Regions from separate parts of the Homo sapiens genome. Here regions 2, 3 and 4 are each linked to region 1. Evidence: promoter capture Hi-C in 16 types of primary human blood cells and fetal thymus (Javierre and others, 2016). All regions are on one chromosome and are shown on one strand. The core of a region is centred on a gene start or on the middle of the fragment in contact, and the rest is flanking DNA. Distances in the headings are between cores, read along the strand shown.

Evidence for each region. Contacts are between HindIII fragments. The CHiCAGO score rates a contact against its expected background, and 5 or more counts as called.
Region 2: a contact is called between a fragment that was not itself captured here and the fragment with the promoter of BCAR3-AS1 in region 1, in 6 of 17 cell types (naive B cells, total B cells, M1 macrophages and 3 more). The highest score is 6.5, in naive B cells.
Region 3: the fragment with the promoter of FNBP1L here is called in contact with the fragment with the promoter of BCAR3-AS1 in region 1 in 15 of 17 cell types (erythroblasts, M0 macrophages, megakaryocytes and 12 more); the score reaches 27.9 in erythroblasts.
Region 4: a contact is called between a fragment that was not itself captured here and the fragment with the promoter of BCAR3-AS1 in region 1, in 4 of 17 cell types (megakaryocytes, erythroblasts, endothelial precursors and 1 more). The highest score is 7.6, in megakaryocytes.

What each region holds. Positions count from the first base shown.
Region 1 is chr1:93,590,534-93,593,741 of GRCh38, reverse strand. BCAR3-AS1 (BCAR3 antisense RNA 1) reads right to left here and starts at 1,774. Exons shown (of 4, transcript NR_034091.1): 1 at 1,234-1,774. It overlaps BCAR3 (BCAR3 adaptor protein, NSP family member), which reads left to right. Exons shown (of 12, transcript NM_003567.4): 4 at 1,349-1,477. RefSeq lists enhancers at 1,412-1,571, 1,078-1,578. The HindIII fragment of the contact is 15,312 bases long and covers 1-3,208 here.
Region 2 is chr1:93,796,092-93,798,991 of GRCh38, reverse strand. It overlaps a transcript of BCAR3 not described here. Among named protein-coding and RNA genes, the nearest start is that of MIR760, 49 kb to the left of the region's middle. RefSeq lists an enhancer at 2,536-2,900. The HindIII fragment of the contact is 178 bases long and covers 1,360-1,537 here.
Region 3 is chr1:93,446,758-93,449,667 of GRCh38, reverse strand. FNBP1L (formin binding protein 1 like) reads right to left here and starts at 1,550. Exons shown (of 17, transcript NM_001164473.3): 1 at 1,363-1,550. The coding sequence starts at 1,386. RefSeq lists silencers at 1,393-1,442, 2,382-2,676 and an enhancer at 923-1,901. The HindIII fragment of the contact is 14,675 bases long and covers 1-2,910 here.
Region 4 is chr1:93,427,858-93,431,075 of GRCh38, reverse strand. No RefSeq gene overlaps it. Among named protein-coding and RNA genes, the nearest start is that of FNBP1L, 19 kb to the left of the region's middle. The HindIII fragment of the contact is 889 bases long and covers 1,091-1,979 here.

The DNA.
Region 1 (3,208 bases), core at 525-3,024:
TGTTGTTGTTGTTTGGTGGAAAAGGATTTGGAGCTATTTCTTTGCTGACGTGCAAAGTAGTGTAATAGGCCGGGCATGGTGGCTCACGCCTGTAATCCCAGCACTTTGAGAGGCCAAGGTGGGTGGATCGCTTGAGCCCAGGAGTTTGAGACCAGCCTGGGCAACATGGCAAAACCCTATCTCTAAAAAAAAAATTACAAAAATTAGCCAGGCATGGTGGCACGTGCCTGTTGTAGTCCTAGCTACCAGGGAGGCTGAGATGGGAGGATCGCTTGAGCCCAGGAGGTTGCTTGAGCCCAGGAGGCCAAGGCTACAGTGAGCTGAGATTGCACCACTGTGCTCTAGCACAGTGAGACCCTGTCTCAAAAAAAATAAAATAAATAAACATTTTTAAAAAGTAGTGTGATAAGTAATAATTTTGTGGCTCCCATGGGGGTTTGAAGGACAAGCTGGGAAACTTGGGAGAACCACAGGGACACAGCCTTTTTCTGTTCATGGGACTTTCAGCAAGCGGTTCCTGGTCAGCATGCCTGGTCTTGCTGGGAACTGGGCAGGTTTCCAGGTTCAGTTCACATGTTGTAAGCAGGCATGGTTCTAAATTAAACCTGGAGCCACCGCTGTCCACCCAGCACTCACTGCCATGGCCACTGTGCAACGCCGCAGACCACTGATTCTCAAACATCTGAGGTGAAGGACCAGGGTTGTCTTTTTAAATTTGTTTCACTTTCCTATCTGTCATAAAAATGAAATATTAGAAATGTGAAATAAAGACAGACTTCTGTTATTAGATTCAAGAGACATAAAATTGCTCTGTCCATTTGCCCTAAAAGTTTCTAAAGACTGACTCAATTCCTGAACATGAGTTTACCAACAGCAAAGAAGTTAGGGCCATCGCTACCAGCCCAAGGACTGTGCTTTGGGCCTCACTGCCCAGAGGCCCAGGATCTAAGGCCAGAAGGGAACAGCTGCCCTCCCCACGCTATGTCAGGACAGTCCTGAAGGAGAATGAGGAAGCTCTCCGCTGGGAAGAGAGCAGGCTGGGCTGCTGTGTCTTGCTGTCTGTACATCTCTCTGGCCCTTCCTGCCCAGCTGCTTGAGTAGACTGGTAAAAGGAACCTCTTGGTGGACTCTCCTACCATAGTCCCCATGTGCAGGTGAAAATTTTATTACATGGTTGCGGCCGGAGAAACGAAAGGTCACAGCTCTTTGTAATCATTATCCAGGCTCCCCTACCTGAATGCAGGCTGTAGCATAACTGGTTGGATTAGTGAAGCAGGCGGTCACCTCCAGCTGGCATGGCCTGGTGTGGCCTGGGCAGGGTGAGCTCATGGTTGACTCTGTGTTGCAGTTCTCCAAGGAGAGGCACATCATGGACAGGACCCCCGAGAAACTGAAGAAGGAGCTGGAGGAGGAGCTGCTCCTGAGCAGCGAGGACCTGCGCAGCCATGCCTGGTACCACGGCCGCATCCCCCGACAGGTACCTGGTCTTGTCCCTTCCAGAGCATACACGGCTGCTCTCAGGCAATGTACAGATTGATGACCCGCAGGGTCCCACTCCGAGGCCACATGGGCGGAAGCACCTGTGTAACCAAAAACAAATACTCTAAAAATGACTTCATTTAGACCCTTCTCTAAGAAGACCTTGGGAAGAGCTGAGGTCAAGAACCCAAAGCACACATCCACATGTTCAGGAAGTGAAGGGACAGCCAGCGCTCCTGGGGTCTGCAAGCACAGCGTTGTGGGAGGCAGCAGCCACAGAGTCAGTAACCGGAAGAACTAGGAGGGCGGGCTGTGGCCCAGGTAATTGAACTCTTGGCCAGCTGCCAGCAGCCTCAGACCATTTGCAGCCCCTCCTTCTCAAGGCAGTGGCTTAGCTTCGGGAGGAGAGAGGGCAGGTGGCCCAGATCAACAAGGCTGCCTCTGCCCCATTGAGCTGGCAGTTATTCACACTCTCCATCACTTCCCTACTGGATCCTGTGACCCAGAGGTGGGAAAAAAGGGGAATTAAACCCATGACCACAGACTCATGGCCCAGAATATACTTTGTGATCGTCATTTGGGTGATTGCCATAAATAATGTTTTTTCATTTAATACTGTAAAAATTGAAAAATAGAGTAAGTCTGCAGAATTGAGGCATAGAATTTCCCTTGGGTTTTTATTGTAAACCTGATCTGGCCAATCATTAACCAAGGACAACATGACAGGAAGTGTGTGGACAGGGGCTGGGGGGAAGGGCATCATGTCGTAAGTTTTTTTTCTTTTTTTTGAGACAGAGTCTTACTCTATCACCCAGGCTGGAGTGCAATAGCACAATCTCAGCTCACTGCAACCTCTACCTCCTGGGTTCAAGCGATTCTCCTGCCTCAGCCTCTCTGGTAGCTGGGATTACAGGTGTCCACCACCATGCCCTGCTAACTTTTATATTTTTAGTAGAGACGGGGTTTCACCATGTTGGCCAGGCTGGTCTCGAACTCCTGCCCTCAAGTGATCCACCCACCTCAGCCTCCCAAAGTGCTGGGATTACAGGCATGAGTCACTGTGCCCAGGCTTTTTTTTTTTTTTTTTTTTTTTTAATGTAGTAGATTTCTTGGCACAATCAAATAAATAATTATTATTCTGACTTTGTTTTTTTAAGTTTAAAATTGATTGTAGAAAACATAGATAGCAAAAAGAAGGAAATTAAACTCTTATCCATAATTCTCCTCATAATTCTCCTGGGGATAACCACGATGAATACTTTTGTGTACATACATCCTCCCGGGCTTTTTGAAATCAAGTATGAGATTGTACTACATATACTTTTTTGGTAGCCCATTCTACTCACTTACTATGTCCTGGGAATTTTCACCCACTGTAGAATATTCTTCTGCACCAGCCTACATTGTATGTCTGTCCACGGTATGCATGCACTACAATTTACTGGACACATAGGGTGTTTCTAATACTCTGACCAATATCCTTTAAGATTGCTGTGTTCATACCTACAATTATTTTCACAGGCTCAATTCTAAGAAGTGGCATTTCTATGTGAAAACATTTTTAAGGCAAAGATGCAATTTTAAAGTAACCATGGTAGCCTACTATTTTGACCTAACAGAAGTATACTGTTGATCAAATGTTGGAATGTTCCAGAAAAATTGTCAGAATTATAAAACCGATACTATCACCACCGTCCGTCTCCTTATCATGGTCATTACATTCGTTTAC
Region 2 (2,900 bases), core at 199-2,698, 210 kb before region 1:
ACAATGTACTTTTACTCTCTGCTCCACACATTACCCTCTCTTGCTGTAATACTCTTAATCTCACAAGTTACTTCTTGAAGCAACTGAGGAGATTACCTCATGACTGTATGGAACAGCATACAGTCTGTATGCTGTATAGTTCTATTACTAATAGAACAGCTTTTGATGCCCAGTCAGAATTTGCAGGAGATACCACTACAAAATGCTGATGTTACCTGGTTCACAGATGGATCATATCTAAAGGATAAGTTTGAAAAATACCAAACAAGCTATGTCGTTGTGTCTCATGTAGACATCATAGAGAGCAATTTCTTGCCTAAAGTAAAGTCAGCACAGTTGGCTGGATTAATAGTACTCACCAGAGGTTGTCTAACTGGCCAAAAATCAAATAACTAATATTTATACTGACAGCCATTACACTTTTGGTGCAGCTCATGTCTTTGGAATGTTATGGAAACAGCGAGGTTATTTAACCTCCTCTGGACATCCTATTAAACATGGCTCTCAAGTTTCTGATCTTCTGGAAGCCATCCAGTTACCAAAAAAAATTGGCTATTGTTAAGAGTCTTGGACATTCCAAACATGACTCCCTGGAGTGAAGGAGATAATTTTGCTGATGCTGAGCAAAAAAAATAAAAATAAAAATTAGCTTAATGCTAATATCAAATGAAACTGTAGAGATGGCCATGTTTAAAGTGAAGGGGCTCAAGAAAAGGCTCCAAAGCGGAAAAAGCAAATATGACTAAGGGAGAATGCTTTTCCCCCAACTTGCAAAATATAATATAGACCCAGTGACAGGAAAGCACATCCCTATTTTGCCTTTGGGATATCAATTTCCTATATTACAGCATGTCCATGAACTCATTCACTGGGGACTTGAGAAAATATTTGCCTGGGGAAAACACTATTACTGGAAACCCTCACCCACAGTAGTTCATAAGGTTTGTGCTAAATGTCCAATTTGTCCTATATATAATCCAGGAAAGCCTCTTCTAGATCTCAAGGGCATTTACCTTTGCCCACCGGCCCTTTCAATATTTGACAAATGGATTTTATCCACTTACCTCCAGCTCAGGGTTATAAATATGTATTGGTTATGATTTATATGTTCTCTCATTGGGTTGAAGAATTTCCTTGAGACAGTAGGAAAATGTTTGTTGGAATGGATAATTTCCTTTTGAGGAATTCTTTCCAAATTACATAGAAATAGGGAACTCATTTCACTGAACAGATAATTCACTTAATTTGTATAATCTGGCCTATTTTCCAATATTTTTATTGTACATACCATGCCCAGTCTTCTGATTGGTAGAATGAATATATCAAAAATAAAACCCAGCTAGAAAATTATCGAAAGCTTTTCCTATTACTTGGCCCCAGGCTCTTCCACTGGTTTTGCTTAACCTAAGAGCAGCTCCTTCTGGAATAATATGTCAATTATCCCATGAGATAATTACAGGTTGACCTATGAAAGTAAATGGCAGTTTATATGAACCAACTTTACTGAAAGGAGATATACTCCATTATTAACAAAGCTTAACTAAACTTCTTTTCCAAACAAACTAAATTGTAAAAAGAGCCTTAAATGCAATAGAGGCAGGACTTGGGACATTAAGACAAGTTGAGAATGTATTTAATGAAGAAAGACATTTACAAGAAAAGTTGATACTTACCAACCTAAGTAGAATAAAAAGCATACTCTTTCAGAAGGAAAGTGAGGGTTGAGAAGCTGCATGGAAAGATAATGATGCTATTGCTAAATGGGTGAATCAAACTGCCTGGCTAACGAGGGACTATGCCAAAGCCCAACAATCAGAAAAAGCATGGGTTCAAATTCAACAAGGTTATTGACCATGCTAATCCAAATGGAAGCAGAAGTGGCCTCTAAAACGTGGCCAGTCGTTTTGGATGCAGAAGCACAAGGTATACATTTATGGAAAACATATGGGCCCTCTTCTTCCTGGAAAATTGCTACCAGGGTACACAGCCTGTACTCTTAGGGCTTCAGCAACCCACATATACAGTAACCAGAAATATAATGCAGTATAGCTAGTGGAAATTGGGATCATTTTTAATAATACCCGTGTTCTCCCAACAGGCAGTTGATGGAACCATACTAAATAATAATATTTGGAATCCAATTTCAGTTTTAGATTGCAAACAAATTCAGGAAGAATTGTTCTGTCCCCAGAACATCTGGAATCCTGAAATCATGGAAACATGGTTCCTAATTTTTACCCCTATTCAAAATAATATATAGGAAATGGATATTTTTGTTTGGAAGCGAAGACAAATAAGACTATAAGTGTTGGGGAGGAGCCAAGATGGCCGAATAGGAACAGCTCCAGTCTACAGCTCCCAGCGTGAGCGACGCAGAAGACAGGTGATTTCTGCATTTCCATCTGAGGTACCGGGTTCATCTCACTAGGGAGTGCCAGACAGTGGGCGCAGGCCAGTGTGTGCGCGCACCGTGCGCGAGCCGAAGCAGGGGGAGGCATTGCCTCACCTGGGAAGCGCAAGGGGTCAGGGAGTTCCCTTTCCGAGTCAAAGAAAGGGGTGACGGACGCACCTGGAAAATCAGGTCACTCCCACCCGAATATTGCGCTTTTCAGACCGGCTTAAAAAACGGCGCACCACGAGACTATATCCCACACCTGGCTCAGAGGGTCCTACACCCACGGAATCTCGCTGATTGCTAGCACAGCAGTCTGAGATCAAACTGCAAGGCGGCAACGAGGCTGGGGGAGGGGCGCCCGCCATTGCCCAGGCTTGCTTAGGTAAACAAAGCAGCCAGGAAGCTCGAACTGGGTGGAGCCCACCATAGCTCAAGGAGGCCTGCCTGCCTCTGTAGGCTCCACCTCTGGGGGCAGGGCACAGACAAACAAAAAGACAGCAGTAAC
Region 3 (2,910 bases), core at 301-2,800, 140 kb after region 1:
GGTGGTGTGTTTTCAGACTGGGTAAGCACTTGTACAGAATGTTGCACAAGAGATTCCTGGCTGGCTAAGTAAAGCATTCACTAGATGGACTCTAAAGTCTCACAGTTCTAAGATTCCCAATCTATGAGTAGACGTGAAAAATAAGAAAACATTTTGCCTTTCAATTAACCCATTGGCTTTCACTCCCACCCTAGCTGGGCACACACATACTCAAAAGTTATTTCTCCCCTTTCTCTGCAGTGATTTCACGAGATCCTCGCGAACAAAAGGCACGGAAAACAGGCACAGGTGGAATAAAAAGGGGAGTGGCTGAGGCCAGGCGGCTCTCGGGACAGCGCCCCCACGCCCCCAGTTCTCCCGGCCGCACCTGAGAAATCACTGCCCTCCGCACCTGAGAAATCACTGCCCTCCACACCTCGACCCTTCCGCGCCGGCGCCAGGAGCAAATTCTCCGACCTATTACCCTCCGCCCGTACCTTGGCCAGACACTGGGCATTGTCTGGAGCCTCCTGTGCCAAAGAAAGGCAAGGAGGAAAGGAAAGGAGAGAACGAAGGAGAAAGAACAAGTGAGAATAAAGAACGGAAAGGGAAGTAAAGCAACAGGGAGACCGTACGCTCCTTTTGGTAAAATTAGCTTCCTCATCGATCACTCGATTTAATTCAGCCCCCAAAACCAACCCACCAGCCCAAAGGCTGCAGCCGGGGGTGGCCAAACCGGAGTCCCTCGAAGCTGTGCCCGCCCGAAGCACTGAGGCAGGGAGAGAGAAATGTGCGTGTGGGCTGGGCCTGGCTGGCCCGAGGCCGGGCTCCGAACAAAGCCGCCTGGGTCCCCATACCTGGGGCGAGGGCTCTGGGCGGCGCCGCCCCAGACGGGCGACGCCCTAGCCCCGCGGACCTGGCCCGGGCGAGGAATCGCGGCCGGTCCCCTCCCCGCCCTCGAACAGCGCCCCTTGGGGACAATGGGCCCCCTCCCCCGCCTCCGGGAGGAGAGATACAAAGGAAGAGAGGAGCCGCCGGGCGCGAAGCCAGGCGTCGGGAAAAGTGAAGGTGGAGGAGGGAGAAGGAACAAGAGGGGATCACGGCGCACGCAGGAGCCCGCGGGCTGCTCCCCCGGCCGTCCCGGGCGCCGCCCGAGCTGCACCACGGCGGCAAAGGCGGGAGCACGGACTAGCGGCCCCCTAGACCCCCGGCCGAGAAGGGAAGAGGAGTCTGCACACAAAGACGAGCGGGACCCTCACCCTCCGCCAGCGCCGGACCGAGGACGGCGGAGCGCGCTTTCACCGCCGAGGGTCCGCGGCGCCCGCCCAACCCGCGCTTCTCAGGGGCCGGGGTCCGTGCGGGGCGCCCCTCTCCCCGACTCACCCACAGCTCCGTGCCCCAGCTCATGGCGGAACTTTCTGGCCGTCTGGCGGTGCCGCTGTCCTTCAGTCTGTCGGCTCCACAGTCTGTCCGACCTCTCACTCGCTGGCCGGCGGGCTAGCAGCTCAGCGGGTCTACCTCGAAAGGTGCCGCCACCGCCGGGCTCCCCAGTGAGTGAGAAAGACGCGACTGGAGAAGCCTCCGCCGCCGACGCGTCCCCGCCTCCCCGCGCTGGGCGGGAGGGGGCCGGGGCCGAGGGGAGGCGGAACGCGGCGCGGGGAGGGGGCGGGGCGCAGTGCATCCTGGGATCGGGGAGGACCTGGGCTAGCCTGGCCACCGCCGGCGGGGTCCCCAAGCGGGCACCTGGTCACCCTCGCTGGCCCCTCTCGCTGGTCGAGTCTCCTCCTGCAGGTACCCCGGAGCTTGGACTGCCCCCACTCCGCTGCCAGTCGGACCCCTGTTTCCAAGATAGAAAGGGAGAGAAGGGAAAAGACCCCCACCGCCGCTATTATCTCATTCCTCCTCTGCGCTGAGCCCCTTTACATGAGGCAATTTTAGTTACCTGCCTTTCCTGCCTCTTGTCTCCTCCACTCGGGAGAAACCTTGACAGGGAAGCGTCATCCAAATCCTAGAGTTTAGACTGAGGAGAGTTGTGTTTTATTTTTTTAAATCTTGATGCTTAAGGTGATCTCTCCTTTCAAGCCTGATGCTTTGGCATGACGATTCTTGGGAACCACCAAAATGTGCACAGGTTGAACAGCAAATGTGAAGGCAACATGTCCCCGATTCTGTCTTTAATTAAATATTTTAATTTTATAAATTCTGTCAGGAAATTATAAAAAGAGGCAGCTCTTCCAGTAATCATTTAGGTATGTTGCCAGCGCACGAGATGGAAGACGTGGACAAATGTGAGCCGAGCTGTCACCTGCGGAAGATGAGAAGGCAGCTTGCCCCATGTCTGGAATGGGCACCTCGTGGGTGAGGGTTGGATGGGAGCCAGATTTTTCTCTGGTAGTGTAAACAGCTTATTCGGAACTTCAGATCTCTTTCACCTCCCAGTATCGGAACCTTGGAGGCAGGTCCACTACTTCCTTTTTTCTCTATGGAGCTACTTCCTGGCCTATCTCCATGGAAAGGCTGTTAGCTAGTTTGGCTGGTGCTACTAGATATCAAGTACGCTGAGCAACTCCCTAACATATGCTTTAGTATTAATAGCTTGTCTCCTAAAGCAAGCAAGCGCACACACACACACTTCAAAACAGTCAACTAGTAGAGTACTCCTCAGTGCGTCATGACAGCTGGGTGTTTTAGGAAGCTCTCCCAACGGGTTCTTTGTCAGCATTGAAACTCCTCCCCTACCTGGCCTGGACAGGTGTTCCAACCTCTTCCGCTTAATCCGTATTCTTTTGCCTAGCTGCGCTCCCTCTTGGAGTTGAGGCCAACAGCCTGAGTTCGCCTGACAGTCCAGTTGCTAATCTTCCTAAATTCTCTGCTGTCCTTTTCTGAGGCCACTTTAAGCATACAAATGCCCTCTTCCAAGTGGGTTATAGC
Region 4 (3,218 bases), core at 286-2,785, 160 kb after region 1:
CCAAATAAAATTTTCCTTCTTCTTCTATAATTTATATACTGTTACTTCTTTTTATTTTCTTAATAAAATGTTGAATAGAAGAGGTGAGCATGGAGGACCCATCCAGTGGCTCATGCCTATAAACCCCAACACTCTGGGAGACCAAGGCAAGAGGATTACTTGAGCCCAGGAGTTTGAGACAAGCCTGGGTAACGTGGTGAAACCCTGTCTCTACCAAAAATACAAAAAAAAAAAAATTAGCTAGGCATGCTGGTGCACAGCTGTATTCCCAGCTACTTGGGAGGATGAGATAGGAGAATTAATTGAGCCCAGGAGGTCAAGGCTGCAGTGAGCCATAATAGCGCCACTGCATTCCAGTGTGGGTGATAAAGCGAGAACCTGTCAAAGAAAAAGAGGTGAGCATGGACATTTCTTTCTTTCTTTGGAATCTTAGACAGAAAGCATTCAGTTGTTCATGATAAACCATGACGGTAGCTGTAAATTTTTTATATATGGACTTTGTCAGGTAAAAGAAATTCCCTTCTATTCCTACACTGATGAAAGTTTTCGTTAGGAATGAATGTAAGACCTTGTCAAATGTTTTTCTTTCAGCTATTGAGAAGAATTTGTGTGTGTGTGTGTGTGTGTGTGTGTGTGTGTGTGTGTGTGTGTGTGTAGATTAAATTACATTGGTTAATTTTCTAATTTTTTTCACCAGTCTTGCATTTGTGGGATAAACTAGTTTGGTCAGAATATATTAACCATTGTATTCATTACGGGATTTATTTTGCTAACATTTTGTTGAGGAATTTTATTTCAATGTTCATGAAGAACAGTGGCATACAGTTTCATTATCTTCTGTGTTTTTGTTTGGTTTTGGTACCGGGTGAATGCTAGTCTCATATAATGAATTAGGGGAAGTTTCTTCTTCTTCAATTTTCTGAAAGAATTTTTGTAGAACTGTTATTATTTTGCTTTTACATTTTGGTAGACTTCAACAGTGAAGCCATCTGGGCCTGGAGTTTTCTTAATGGGAAAATTTTTAATTAAAAATTTGATTTCTTTAATAAAAATAAAACTTTGCATATTACTATTTCTTCTTGAGTAAGCTTTGGTAGCTTGCCTATTTCATTTAAGTTGTTGAATATATTAGTAAAAAGTTATAATAGTCCCTTATTATCCTCTTAATGTTTATAGAACCTATAATTATGTCACCCTTTCCTTCTCAATATTAGTGATGTGTATCTTCTTTTGTCTCCTATCAGTCAGGCTACAGGTTTATCAATTTTATTGATCTTCTCAATCTGTTTTTGGCTTTATTGATTTTCTCTATTCTTCTTGCTTATTTGTTTTCCATTTCTCTGATTTCTGCTCTTATATTTATTACTTTCTTTGGCTGATTTGGATTTGAATTGTTCTTCTTTTTACAGTTTCCTAAGGTCACTAATTTGAAACAATTTTTAAAATATATATGCCCTTAATGCTATATATTTCCTCCTAAGCACTGCTTTAGCATCATCTCACAAATTTTTCTTTTTACTCAATTCAAATAATTTCTAACATTCTTTTGCTTGCCTTTTTGATACTTGAGTTATTTAGAAGTGTGTTATTTATGTTTAATATCCACCTATTTGGGGATTTTTCAGATATCTTTCTGTTGTTGAGTTCCATTTAATTTTCTTGTTGTCATATTTTGTATATTTGAATTATTTTCAACTTACTGAGACTCGGTTTTTGATCAGAATATGACTTATCTTGGTAAATGTTTTGTGGATATTAGAAAAGAACATGTATTTTGTTGCTGTTGGGTGAAGTATTTGATAAATTTCAATTAGGTCAAGTTGGTTTATGGTGTTTGAATCTTCAATATCTTTACAGATTTTCTGTTTATCTCTTCTATTAAATTCTAATGAGAAAGATGCCAAAGTATCTTACTATAATTGTGAACTTATATATTTTTCCTTGCAGTTCCATCAGTTTTATTTTGTGTATGTGAAGCTTAATTATCAGGTGCATAAACATTGAGAATTGCTAAGTTCTCTTGACCAATTGACTCCTTTGTTTTATCTCATTTTCTTTTCTTTTTTTTTTTTTTTTTGAGATAGGGTCTCACTCTGTCATCTAGGCTAAAGTATAGTGGCATAATCATGGCTCAAGGTAGCCTCAATTTTTCCCGGGCTCAAGTGATCTCCCACCTTAGCCTCCTGAGTAGCTGGGACTACAGGCACTCGCCACCACACCAAGCTAATTTTTTAACTTTTTTTTCACTATGTTGCCCAGGCTGGTCTCAAACTCCTGGGCTCAAGTGATCCTCTTGCTTCAGCATCTGGAGTAGCTAGGGTTACAGGCACACATCACTGTACCTGGATTTAGGATGATTCTTTTTAACACTGGCAATATTCTTTGCTCAGAAATCTACTCTGTCTGAAATTAATATTGTCATCCTAGTATTCTTTTGATTAGTGTTAGCATGAGATTTTTTTCCATCTTTTAATTTTTAGGTTATTTGTTACTTTGTTTTTCAAATGGGTTTCTTATAGGCAGCATATAGTTGGGTCTTGCTTTTCTACCCAACTTGACAATCTCTGCCTTTAAATTGGGGTGTTTAAGATGTTTACACTTAACATAATTAAGGATATGGTAGGGTTTAAGTCTACCATCTTACTTTTTGTTTTCTGTTTGTCCTATTTGTTTTCTGTTCCCCCTTTTTCTTGTTAACTTCTCTTGGATTGAGTATTTTTTATTATTCCATTTTATCTCCAGTTGGCCTATTAGCTACAACTCTTTGTTTTGTATTTTAGTGGTTACTTTAGGGTTTCTAATATACATTTTTTAAACTTTATTTTTAAAATGACTGTTTTCCTTTTTGAGACAGGGTCTTGCTCTGTCACCCAGGCTGCAGTGCAGTGGTGTGATCTCGGCTCACTGCAACCTTCGTTTCCCAGGCTCAAGTGATCCTCCTACCTCAGCCTCTCAAATAGCTAAGACTGCAGGTATGTACTACCACACTTGACTAATTTTTAAATTTTTTGCAGAGATGGGGTCTCACTGTTGCAGGATCCTTGGGTTGTTGCTTTTCTGGCTGGAAACCTCTGTGGCTGAGTTTTGCTTGGGGCTGCTGGGCTTATTCCACCCACTTGGCCTGGCAGGCTCCTCTCAGCTCATGCTACTGGCCTGGATCCTACGGCTGCCAAGGGCAAGCCAGGCATGGAGTGGTGAGAGATGTGTGAGTGAGCAAG